Regions from separate parts of the Homo sapiens genome. Here region 1 is linked to region 2. Evidence: promoter capture Hi-C in 16 types of primary human blood cells and fetal thymus (Javierre and others, 2016). All regions are on one chromosome and are shown on one strand. The core of a region is centred on a gene start or on the middle of the fragment in contact, and the rest is flanking DNA. Distances in the headings are between cores, read along the strand shown.

Region 1 (6,173 bases), core at 751-3,250, 280 kb after region 2:
GTCTGGATATACATTTTGTTGATTCAGCAGTTAATAGGCATTTGGGTTGTTTCATTTTTGGCTACTATGAATAATGATGCTATAAAAATTCATGTACAAATTGGGCTGGGCACGGTGGCTCACGCCTGTAATCCCAGCACACTAGGAGGCTGAAGCAGGCAGATCACTTGAGCCCAGGAGTTGGAGACCAGCTTGGGAAACATAGCGAGACCCCATATCTACAAAAAATACAAAAAAAAAAAAAAATTAGCTGGGTGTGGTGGTGCACAGCTGTGGTCCCAGCTACTCGCGAGGCTGAGGCAGGAGAATCGCTTGAGCCTACAAGCTTGGACTGCAGTGAGCCGCAATCATGTCACTACACTCCAGCCTGGGTGACAGAGCGAGACCCTGTTTCAAAAAAATAAAAAATTCATGTACTAGGTTTTATGGGGACATGTTTTCATTTCTCTTAGGTATATGCTTGGAGCAGAAGTGTGAGTAATATGGCAACTGTTACATTCTGGTACCTGCCTACCTGTCTGCCCCAGGGCCTTTGCACCTCCTAATTCCTTCTCTGTTCACCACACCCACACTCTGCCTCGTAAGTCATAATTAGGATGAATCAGCATATTATCCTCTCATTGAATTACACTGCATTCTGATACAGGACTTATCTCTATAATTTTATTTTGAGACAGGGTCTCACTTTGTCGCCCAGGCTGGAGTGCAGTGGTACAATCTAGGCTCACTGAGGCCTCGACCTCCTGGGCTCAAGCCACCCTCCCACCTCAACCCTCGCAAGTAGCTGGCATTACAGGCAATGCCACCATGCCCAGCTAATTTTTATATTTTTAGTAGAGACGGGGTTTCACCATGTTGGCCAGGCTGGTTTTGAACTCCTGTGCTCAAGTGATCCGCTGGCCTGGGCATCCCAAAGTGCTGGGATTACAGGCGTGAGCCACCACGCCCAGCCTCTCTATAATTTTATATTAGTGAGGTTGTTTGCTGAATGTCTTTATTCTTCACTCAAATGAGGTCATATGGCTGGGCCCTAACCCAGGGCAGGACTTTGTCTCCTTCATTACTGACTGTATTCCCAGAGCAAGGCCCGGCACACTGTGGCCCCTCAATAAATGTCAAATATCGGTGAATGGGGAAGAAGCGGAGGAAAGACGGCTTCACCGGGAAATTCAGAGCAACTACACGGCCTGCTTCCTGAGAGCCCAACGGGTCAGAGGGGACGCTCTGGGGGTCAGAAGGCAAATGCCCCAGGCTCAACAGAGGCAGAGTGGGAGCAGGCTCTGGGACAGGTGGCTGGGCAAGGCCACCTGGACTCCCCAAAGGAGTGCTCCTAAGCCTGGGAAAGGGAGGGAGAGCTGGCTGGGGTCTTCTCTCATCTCAGGGAGGCCTGGGTTGATGCTGAGCTGCAGATGGGAGGGAAGCTGGGCCCACAGCGAAGGTGTGAAGGGCCAGCAGATTCTCCCCACTCCAAGGCCCAGACACTATTCACATTGAGTCTCTGGCAGGAAGGAATGGAGGAAGGGCGGCCTGCATCTACACCCCAACAGAGTTGGGGACCACAGCCTTCCTCTTTCCTGGGGAACTCAAATGACCTCAAAACTTGAAAACTTGATGGGATCAAGCTGTCCTTTCCCTGAGACAGGTCTTTGCTCATCTGACTTCAGTGATGGGAATATGCCCATACTCGCTTATTCTAGGTAGCAGAGTACCTTATGTTTCCTTGAAACATTTCATTTCTTCTTTATTATTATTTTTTTTTTTGAGATGGAGTTTTTCACTCTTGTCGCCCAGGCTGGAGTGCCCGTGGTGGTGAGAGGTGAAGCCAGCTGGACTTCCTGGGTGGAGTGGTGACTAGGAGAACTTTTCTGTAGCTAACTAGAGGTTTGTAAAATGCACCAATCAGTGCTCTGTAAAAACACACCAATCGGTGCTCCGTAGCTAGCTGGAGATTTGTAAAATGGACCAATCAGCACCCTGTAAAATGGACCAATCAGTGCTCTGTAAAATGGGCCAATCAGCAGGACATGGGTGGAGACAAATAAAGGAATAAAAGCTGCCTCCCCGACCAGCCCATCCCCACCCCAACAAGCCAGCAGCAGAAACCCGCTTAGGTTCCGTTCCACGCTGTGGGAGCTTTGTTCTTTTGCTCTCCACAATAAATCTTGCTGTTGCTCACTCTTTGGGTCTGCACCACCTTTAATAGCTGTAACACTCACCACAGAGGTTTACGGCTTCATTCTTGAAGTCAGCGGGACCACGAACCCACTAGAAGGAACCAACTGCGGACACAGTGGGATCTCGGCTCACTGCAACCTCTGCCTCCTGGGTTCAAGCAATTCTCCTGCCTCAGCCTCCCAAGAAGCTGGAATTACAGGCGAGCACCACTACACCTGGCTAAGTTTTGCAGTTTTAGTAGAGACGGGGTTCCACCATGTTGGCCAGGCTGGTCTCGAACTTTTGGCCTTAAGTGATCTGCCCGCCTCAGCCTCCCGTGAGCCACCATGCCCGGCCTCAAAAATTTCATTTCTGAGCACGTTTTCCAGAAATCAGCGACTGTAGTTAGGTTAAGGGCATGCTCCTCTATGGCAACGACTGTGGTTTACTTGTCTTTGTACTACTAGTAACTAACGGCACGGCCCCTGGCAAGGTAAGAGGAGACCAACAGAGAATCCTATTTAACATTCTAACATTTTCTGAGTTAAGCATTTCTTCCAGTTTACAAATGAGGAAACAGGCATGGAGAGGTAAGGTGACCTGCCCAAGACTACACTGCCATCTGCTGGTCCTAGACAGCTGGGACCAGAAGCAGTGTGGTTGTAGAGTCTCGTTCTTTTTTTTTTTTTTTTTGAGATGGAATCTAGCTCTGTTGCCGAGGCTGGAGTGCAGTGGCGCAATCCTGGCTCACTGCAACCTCCACCTCCCGGGTTCAAGCGATTCTCATGCCTCAGCCTCCTGAGTAGCTGGAATTATAGGTACGTGCCACCACTCTTGGCTTTTTTTTTTTTTTGTATTTTTAGTAGAGACGGGCTTTCATCATGTTGTCCAGGCTGGTCTCGAACTCCTGACCTCAGGTGATATGCCTGCCTCGGCTTCCCAAAGTGCTGGGATTACAGGTGTGAGCCAACACACCTGGCCAGGACTCCCATTCTTAACCATTATACTGTACTAGAAAGGAGGCGAGGACAAGGGAGATGGAGAAAGTGGAGAACAGAACAATAGTTTTCCGGAATTCATTGCGATCTTTACCTGAAGCACAGCAAAGTCACTGGGAACTTATCCAAAGCTGTAGCCTGGGTGGGCAGAAGGCATGTATTAAGGAGAGGGTAAAGAGTTAAGACTTGCTTACCAGTGCCCAGTAGATGAAAAGCCCTGGAAGGTGTTAGGGAACAGCCACAAAATGAAATGGTCTTTTCAGTGCCACTTAACCTCACAAGGTGGTGATACAGTCGGGGGATTCAGGGCTATCACCAGAGTGCCTGCTGGGCCAGGTACCAGCTGCACACCTCACATTTTAGATCCCTGTTTTATAATCAAAAGTAGAAAATTAAGTTTGGGCCTGAAGCAAGAGTCACAATCTGGCATGTGAGGACTAAATATTTCTGAGTTGGTTGGCAACATGTGTTATCTAGGAGATTTTACATAAAAATGTACATTTCCTTGCTTCTCTTGAAGAGTGGAAGCTTGGCCTGGTGCAGGGGCTCACTCCTGTAGTCCCAGCACTTTGGGAAGCTGAGGCGGGCAGATCACCTGAGCTCAAGAGTTCGAGACCAGCCTGGCCAATATGATGAAACTTTGTCTCCATGGAAAATACAAAAAATTAGCCAGGCATGGTGGCATGCACCTGTAGTCCCAGCTACTCAGGAGGCAGAGGCACGAGAATTGCTTGAACCTGGGAGGTGGAGGTGGCAGTGAGCCGAGATTGTGCCATTGCACTCCAGCCTGGGTGACAAGAGGAAAACTCTGTCTCAAAAAAAAAAAAAAAAAAAAAAAAAGTGGAAACTCACGCATGCTCAGACCTTGACTGCCTACCAACCACTCCAGTGGTCGGGGTCTGGCCCCAAGAGACCATGAATGTCTTACCAATTCATTCATTGGAACCATGCACCCCTGACTCCCTGTTCTCGCCTTGACACTGAAGCCAAATGCCACTTGTCTTATGCTGGCCTCCTTTCACATGAGTACATCACAGTTGCAGCCCCTGCTCCAGATGCATGACGAAATGTAACTGAAGGGGACAGTCCCAAGGTCCCTCTACCACGACTATCGGGATTCTTGGGAAGTCTCCCCATCTTACCAAGTTAGTTTCCCCAATTAAAAAGATATTGGCCGGGCGTGGTGGCTCACGCCTGTAATCCCAGCACTTTAAGAGGCTGAGGCAGGCGGATCACAAGGTCAAGAGATTGAGACCATCCTGCCCAACATGGTGACACCCTGTCTCTACTAAAAATACAAAAATTAGCTGGCGTGGTGGTGCGTGCCTGTAGTCCCAGCTACGTGGGAGGCTGAAGGAGGAGAATCGCTTGAACCCGGGAGGCGGAGGTTGCAGTGAGTAGAGATTGCACCACTACGCTCCAGCCTGGCGATAGAGCGAGACTCTGTTCCAAAAAAAAAAAAAAAAGATATCACCTCTCTGGCAAGTTTTCTGTGAAAATCAAATGAGATGATAAGATAACTTGCTTTGAAAAGAAGCCATTGAACTAACATCCCTCTATTGGCTTATTATTTACGGTAGTGAAAAACTAGAAAGAATCTGTGTCTGATAGAAGGGTGTTCATAACCATGAAGTGCTATGTAGACTCTAAATAAGGAAGCAGTAGATACCTGTGTACCCAGATGGAAGGGAGCCCAGGGCATAGTAACTTAAAAAAGCAAGCTGCAGACTGGGCGTGGTGGCTCACGGCTGTAATCCCAGCATTTTGGGAGGCCGAGGCAGGTGGATCACCTGAGGTCAGGAGTTCAAGACCAACCCGACCAACATGGTGAAACCTGGTCTCTAATAAATACAAAAAATTAGCTGGGCATGGTGGCGGGCACCTGTTAATTCCAGCTACTCAGGAGGCTGAGGCAGGAGAATCGCTTGAACCCGGGAGGCAGAGGTTGCGGTGAGCCGAGATCGTGCCACTGCACTCCAGCCTGGCTAACAAGAGTGAGACTCCTTCTAAAAAAAAAAAAAAAAAAAAAACAAGCTGCAAAACATTCTGTATATTACGGTGTGATTTTTATTTTATTATTATTATTATTCTTGAGACGGAGTCTCACTCTGTCACCCAGGCTGAAGTGCAGTGGCGCGATCTCAGCTCACTGCAAGCTTCGCCTCCCGGGTTCAAGCTAGTCTCCCGCCTCAGGCTCCTGAGTAGCTGGGACTACAGGTGCCTGCCAACACACCCGGCTAATATTTTGTATTTTTAGTAGAGACAGGGTTTCACTGTGTTAGCCAGGATGGTCTGGATCTCCTGACCTCGTGATCTACCCGCCTTGGCCTCCTAAAGTACTGGGATTATAGGCATGAACTACCGCACCTGGCCTTTTTTTTCTGAGATGGTTTCGCTCTTGTTGCCCAGGCTGGAGTGCAATGGCGCGATCTCGGCTCATTGCAACCTCCGCCTCCTGGGTTCAAGTGATTCTTCTGCCTCGGCCTCCGAGTAGCTGGGATTACAGGCATGCACCATCATGCCTGGCTAGTTTTGTATTTTTAGTAGAGACGGGGTTTCACTGTGTTAGCCAGGATGGTCTCGATCTCCTGACCTCGTGATCTGCCCGCCTTGGCCTCCCAAAGTGCTGGGATTACAGGCGTGAGCCACTGCACCCAGCCATTTTTTTTTTTTTTTTTTGAAACAGGGTCTCGCTCTGTTACCCAGGCTGGAGTACAGTGGTGCGATCATGGCTCACTGCAGCCTCAACCTCTTGGGCTCAAGCAATCCTCCCGCTTCAGCCTCCCAAGTGGCTTGGACTACAGGTGTGTGCCATCACACCTGGCTAATTTTTTAAATTTTTTGTAGAGACAGGTCTGTGTTGCCCAGGCTGGTCTCAAACTCCTGGGCTCAAGTAATCCTCCTGCTTCAGCCTCCCAAAGTGCTGGGATTATAGGCATAATCCGAGCTACCATACTCAGCATGATCTCAACATGATCTCATTTTTATTAACAAAAATTACTTATTTTTTGTGTTTATAAG
Region 2 (6,500 bases), core at 2,800-5,299:
ATGAAGCCCTGCTTCAGACCAAGCTATGCCAGCCTTCTCATGGATCAGTCTGACAGTCACTCTGCTGGGTTCCAGCCCCAACCCCCAAGAGTCAACAGAACAAACCGAGGTCAGCAAATGGACTGTTCGCCCTGAACCAAGTCTGAAAGACACTAAGGAAAATGTAGGAAAGAGTTAAAGGACAGGCTGGGGTACTGGCTGAGAAAGAACAATGTCACCTCCAGCCTTCGGCAGCTCAGAGCTGTCCCTCCACCCCCGGAAATGCACCAGACAAGCCAGCCCTGCCTCAGAGCCCAGGGATAGGTGTCCAGTCTCATGCTGGCCTCCCCAACACTTTGGCTAGACCCAGCCCCACACTCAGAGGCAGACCCCAGGCCTTATACACCAGCCCACCCAGATTCATCAATTCAAAGGGCTTGGCTCTAAAATCAGTGTTGCATCCACTATTTCAATCACAGTCCCCACTCCAGAGAATCAGATAGATGCTCAGTCTCCTGTGGCCTCTGTCCACACGGCCAGGCAGTAGGACCTCTGAAAAGAACATTTGAGGTCCACCCTCTCCCAGACACCCCACGCCTGCCCGCTGGCATACTGACCCAGTGAGGCTTTGGGTGAGGTGCCAAGCAGGTCTGTGTTGGGGCCATGCTCCGGCTCTGTGGATGCAATGGTAGGAGTTAGAGATGAGCTCCTAGCTTCCTGCAACCTCCCCTTGAAAGAAGTGATGGGACAAGAATCGGTGGCTTTCCTCAGCTTGCCACCAAAAGATAAAAGGAATATCTACCACTTCCTCCAAGGATTAAAATGAATCCCGGCCCACCCAAAGATACAGGAGGACCCCTGCTCCTATTGTCATGGCCAGATGTCCCCTTCCAAACCCTGAGTCCTCTCCTAGGACCAGGGCACCTGGTTGGAATCTGGGCTGAACTCACGTGCCAGGCCACTGCTCTCTGTAGACGGGGCTGGCTGCTGGGTCCCTGAAGGCTCAGTGGCTGGCGCATCCCAGGCAGGGGGCTGAAAAGGAGGCCAGATCACAGATGCCTCGGTGAGCCACTCCTGCTGGCAAGAAGCACCAAGACCTACAAGCACCTTGTGGACAAGAAATCATACTCCAAACCCATGAGGAAAGGGACTGGAGGGTAGCAAACAAGATCACAGTTGCTATTCACTGTGGAAGAAAGCAGGAAGACAAGCAGCCCCCACCCCAACCCCTTCACTATTTACTTAGAGCCAGAGCCCATTCTCCTAACTTAAAGACAGTTAACTACCACCACCTAGGCAGGCACAGATCTAAAGGCTCCTCATATATGAATATATTTAATTATCACTACAACCCCTATGAAGGAGCTACATCGCCATTTTAGAAACTGAGGTTTTGACAGGTTGAGTGACTTGGCCACCATCACAGGAATGCGGAGTAGAGAACAGGAATTGAAGCCAAGAGTCTAACTTCAGCACCCAGGGCCAGTAAAGAGGAAACCCTCCTCAAAGGGGTGGGGCGGGGAGGAGAGAATCCTTTCACTGTCCCCAAGCACAGTGCCTTTTTTTTTTTTTTTTTTTTTTTTTTTTTTTTTTTTTTTGAGACGGAGTCTCGCTCTGTCGCCCAGGCCGGACTGCGGACTGCAGTGGCGCAATCTCGGCTCACTGCAAGCTCCGCTTCCCGGGTTCACGCCATTCTCCTGCCTCAGCCTCCCAAGTAGCTGGGACTACAGGCGCCCGCCACCGCGCCCGGCTAATTTTTTGTATTTTTAGTAGAGACGGGGTTTCACCTTGTTAGCCAGGATGGTCTCGATCTCCTGACCTCATGATCCACCCGCCTCGGCCTCCCAAAGTGCTGGGATTACAGGCGTGAGCCACTGCGCCCGGCCCACAGTGCCTTTCTTATAGGGGAAGAATCCAGGAAAATTTGTTTGGGGCACCGGACACCTCTTGAAACTTCAAGAAGCTGCCTCTCTTCCCCGCCAGCCCAATTTATAGGAGTCGATTTCTAAGGAGGGCTACACTGCACCTCCATTTATGGAGGAGGAAACACCTAGGCCTACCCAGCAGGAACAGTGGACTTCATACGTGGTGTCCAAGACATCACATCAAAGCAAATGGAATCTACAACCATGATCACAGAAGGCCTGGGCCTTGGTAAATTGCCTGTCAAGAACAACTGGGAAAACGGTTCCTTGTGGGCACTCACTTGAGTGTGTTCTGTGAAGAAATCAGAGTCCTTCTTCTCTGGGGAGTGATTAGGAACGGCACTACTCATGTTGTCTATCCAAAGCTAGAAAGGAGAAGACACCCCTAAAACACAGGGCTCTGAATACTCCTAACCCTCCTGCCCCAGCCCCAAGAACAGGCACTTACATCAGTGCCATGCCTAGCCAGGGCCGCACTCCCCAGCTGCCGGATCTTCTCCCGGTACATCTGGGCAGCTCGGCTATTATATTTGGTGTTGGCATCATTGGCTGTGCATCCATGTTGGCGAAAAAAAGCCGTCTGGAGAGCAAAGAAGAGAGCAGCGCGTGCTACGGGTGATTCTCAAGAAGGAAACGTGTTGGCTGTAGGAGACATCTCCTTATGACAGCGAAGTTATTATCTATACAGGATGATACACGCTACTGACACCGGTTTTTCAGAGATAAAGTTTCTCGAAATTCCTGCAAAAAACACCTTGCAGCGGGCCATCCTCTGATATGACTGAAGTCCAGGCCCCACTGAACGCTGCCTGAGCACAACATCCCATACCCAGCCTCCCCATCCTTCATCCAGGGCAGGCCCACAAGACCCAATGACTGTGAAGGCTCCCAACTCCTGTGGCTTTTCCCCAAGAACACCTGCCCAGTTTAATTGGAATCTGAAACCCATTTAAGAGAAGCTGTGACCAGTTTCGAAGTTTTCAGAAAATAGCTTATGGTGGTGTTATAGAACAGAGAACCCTCTGAACAGGGAAAACGACAGGGCCTCTTAGGGAGTCGTGCAAAGTTAGTAACCAGGCAGAAGAATGGAAGGTGAGGGAAGTAGAAGGAGCTTTACCGCATTGGCATTCCCGCCGACCTGCATACACCTCAGCTGGAACCAGTTCCAGTTGGAATCCAACTCTGTGGACCTGTGTACAAGGGCTGCGTCTCACCCACTAGCAGATACCAGCAGGATTTCCCTGGCAACCCGGATACCTGTCACTTGGCCTCAGGCTGCTGTAGGCACCCAGGAAACATTAATCAGCCATCACCCCATTTCCTCCACACTACCCTGTCCATGAAAACTCTCCTCTTCGTTCATTTACTCCAAAGAGTACTAATTATGTCCCCAGATCCGAAAGGAGGTCACATTCTCAGGCACGCACGCCTGGATTTGGCTTTCCCCTAATGGATGGTCACAGTCTCACTAGAGACATACTGGTCTAACAACATATCAGCAACAACAAGGTCAATGCCTCCCTTTCCCCTCAACTAACGCTCAGAGTCTCAAGCCTGACCGTCAAAAAAGAGGAAGTTTTGGCCCAGAGGCGGAGACGGACCGCCCATGTGCCAAAGGGCCCACACAGGTGGTTCCCTCTGGCAGGAGGCTACCGGACCCTCTCGGCCCAGAGGCTTCCCACCGAATTCAGAGCGGCCCAAGTCGAGGCAGCCACTCTCCCTTGTTGCCCAGACACCCCTGGCCGGCCGGGTGGAAACACGGCAACCGCGCGGAGAGCCTACCTGATGAAGCTCAGATGGACGCCCAGGGAGCGGTGCACCCCGGAACAGTCAATGCACAAGAAAACACCGTACGTGATGCTGGCCCAACTCGGATTCTTGGCGCCGCAGTCGAAACAGGCCTGGGTGGAGGCGGCGATGAGCGAATCGTCAGGGGCCCCGAGTAAAGGCCAGGCACCGACACCCCAGAAACATAACCCACCTCCGCCCTTCTCCCTCCCTCAGGCCCCAGCGGGACGAGAGACTCCGCGCGCCCCCTGCTCACGCACCTTGTTGGTTGGAACTGCGCGAAGCCTCTTAAAAAGAGTCTGGATTTCGGTCTTGTTCGGCTCCGCCGCCATTTTCTCTCCTTCCCAGACACAACCGCGGCTGACGGGTCCCGCCGCGGGCCAATCCACGGCGGGGAGGGCGGGCTCACCAGGCCGGCCTCAGCGGTGCCTGGGCCAGCCGAGGGGTGGGGTGATTGGAGTCCGATCTGGACCAATGGGCAGCCGGCGGGACGGGGGCGGCGACGACAACCGCGGCCGCAAGAATCAACGCCGCGCCGGGCCAATCCGCAGCCGGGGCGGGGCGACGGCGCGCGGACCGGCCCAAACCTCCTCGCGCGCGTAGTACCCTTCCCCCCGCCCCTCCCACGCCGCAACCCCCAGGTGGAGTCGCCCCCACGCCGCGCAGGCTGCGGGAGGCTGGGGGCGGGGACCCCCACTCCAGCTAATTACAGATCGATGAATAAGGATTAGGCTGCCCAAACACTCCTCGTCCCTCCGGCCCGAACGGGCAGACGCATTGGCCCGCGTCTCGCCCAGCCTTCAGCCGTTCTCGGTTAACAGCAAGCCTGACAGCGAGTCCCCTCCACTCCAGATTAGTATCTCGAAGTTCCAGAGCAGGTACCAAGCAGGCAAACCCTTTTCCAACCCCGGCCCCATAACAGACGCTAGGCCTCTCTCTAGATGCCCTCTGGTGGCCTGGCAAGGGTGTCCTATCAAAAAAATGCACATGAGCCCGACAGTGGTGTTTTTGTTTTTGTGTGTGGGTGTGTGTCAAGTTTTAATACACGCTAGAACAAGCCACAAGAGGGTGCTGCTAGGCCAGAACTACACTCACCCCAAGCCCACCCCAGGAACCCCAAAGCAGAGGTCAGGAACTGAGTCCACAGCTCCTGGGGAGGCCCAGGCACCCCTGAACGCTTCTGTCACCTCTGACCTCCCATCTTGCCCTCAGCCTAGACTCGTCCCTTCCCTACCAGTCCCTTCCCTAGACAAAGGCCCCTCCCCTCCCTGGGTCCCAGGACTTCCTCCCTCAAGGGACAGAGGAGCAGCCAGAGAGCGACGGTTCAGGGCCCTGAGGGTCCGGCTCTCCAGGAGAAGCTGGGCTCTGAACCAGGGTGGGTAAACGTTGCAGAAGGGCTGTCAGGACACTCAGGCGCCCACACACTCCACGTAGTTGGCAGGGTACAGGCCAATGCGGCCACTCTGCAACTGGCCTTGGCACCAGCCCTGCTCGTCCTCCTCACTCATCTTCAGCAGCTCCTCCCCTGGGGGAAAGGGGATTGGTCACTGCCAGTGGCCCTGGCCCAGGCCCTGTTCCTGCAACTGGGTCAAGGACTGAGGGGGATGGTGTGGTCCCAGAGCCCAGCTAGCAAAGACATGGCTCAGGCAGAGGCAGGTCAAGGTCAGCAAGCTGCCCCACCCCAGACCCTGAATGCAGCCACCAGGCACCAGCTATCTGGACCTGGAACAGCTGAAGGGACAGAGGACTGGCCCTTAAGAAGTGGGTATTTGGCTTCCCTTTCTGACACCCCTGCTCAGGCAGATAAGGCAGAGGCTGAAGCTAGGAAAGGGGTCCCAGGGTACCTGCTCGGAAGCTCAGCTCATCAGCTTCCTGGCCAGCGTAGTCATAGAGTGCCCTCACCCGAACCCCGGTGGCAGCCTTCCGGGGACTCTCTTCATCTGACCACTCCTCATCCTGCCCCGTGCTGGAGAGGGGAGGCAAAGGGAGCAGCTCAGAGTGCAAGGAACACGGGGCTGGAGATCTCACCCAGGATCAGGGCAAAGGCCTCCCTACCCCCAGAGGCACCTGGGAGAGTCAGGTGAGGTACTAAAGATTCTAGCTCTACCTCGCCATGCCCGACTGTGAGCAAAGAGGCAATTCCTGCCACACGCAGCTGATTTAAGGCATAAACGAGAGGGAATGTGGGAAATGCCCAGCAAATCTAAACCACTATGAGAACCAGTATCATTACAACTACTAAGTAGGCCCTCAGGTCCCTGGCACCAATTTTCAACCCATTTCAGGTGTGAAAGAAATGAAACCAAGGAGAAAGGAAAGGAGGGCGGGAGGCAGAGCTGTTTCTTTGCCACAGCCGCGCTCCTGGCTCTCACCCTGGGGACCCCGGGGACTGGGGTGGGGGTGCGGTGCCATCTCTTGTAGGCACAATGCTGGTCAGGGTAACCTCATCAGGGCTCCGGCCACCCTTCTCTTTCCGGCTGATTGTCCTCTGTGTGTCCAAGGACCACTCCTGTGGGGACAGTGCTTATAGTCAGGTGGGGCCATCTGAACCACCTTCACTTACTTCATCCCTAGCCCTGGCCGAGCTGAGTGGGAGCCCATCCCACCTCCCATCCCCACCCCGCCTGGAACACATGCCTCGAACTGTGGCCAGTTCATGGCCATGCCTGGCCCGTGGGTGCTGCGCCACCAGCGCAGATCCTCTTCGTCACTGGCTGCCTCAATGCCCTGGTGCAAGTCACGGTGGAGTTCATGGAACCTATGACCCAAGGCACACCCCTCAGTCTAGGAAGTCTAGACCCTGCATCC

What was found. The method cuts DNA at HindIII sites, captures the fragments that hold promoters and counts their contacts. A CHiCAGO score of 5 or more calls a contact.
Region 1: a contact is called between a fragment that was not itself captured here and the fragment with the promoter of ARFGAP2 in region 2, in 1 of 17 cell types (naive B cells). The highest score is 5.8, in naive B cells.

The regions. Positions count from the first base shown.
Region 1 is chr11:47,451,616-47,457,788 of GRCh38, forward strand. No RefSeq gene overlaps it. Among named protein-coding and RNA genes, the nearest start is that of RAPSN, 5.6 kb to the left of the region's middle. RefSeq lists an enhancer at 3,798-4,297. The HindIII fragment of the contact is 3,355 bases long and covers 324-3,678 here.
Region 2 is chr11:47,172,830-47,179,329 of GRCh38, forward strand. ARFGAP2 (ARF GTPase activating protein 2) reads right to left here and starts at 4,050. Exons shown (of 16, transcript NM_032389.6): 1 at 3,953-4,050; 2 at 3,687-3,805; 3 at 3,022-3,094; 4 at 2,353-2,484; 5 at 2,186-2,269; 6 at 930-1,011; 7 at 597-653. The coding sequence starts at 4,024. It overlaps PACSIN3 (protein kinase C and casein kinase substrate in neurons 3), which reads right to left. Exons shown (of 11, transcript NM_016223.5): 8 at 6,330-6,450; 9 at 6,065-6,201; 10 at 5,537-5,658; 11 at 4,693-5,217. The coding sequence ends at 5,102. RefSeq lists enhancers at 3,798-4,027, 4,569-5,150, 4,998-5,047, 5,128-5,177 and a silencer at 4,078-4,507. The HindIII fragment of the contact is 14,588 bases long and covers 1-6,500 here.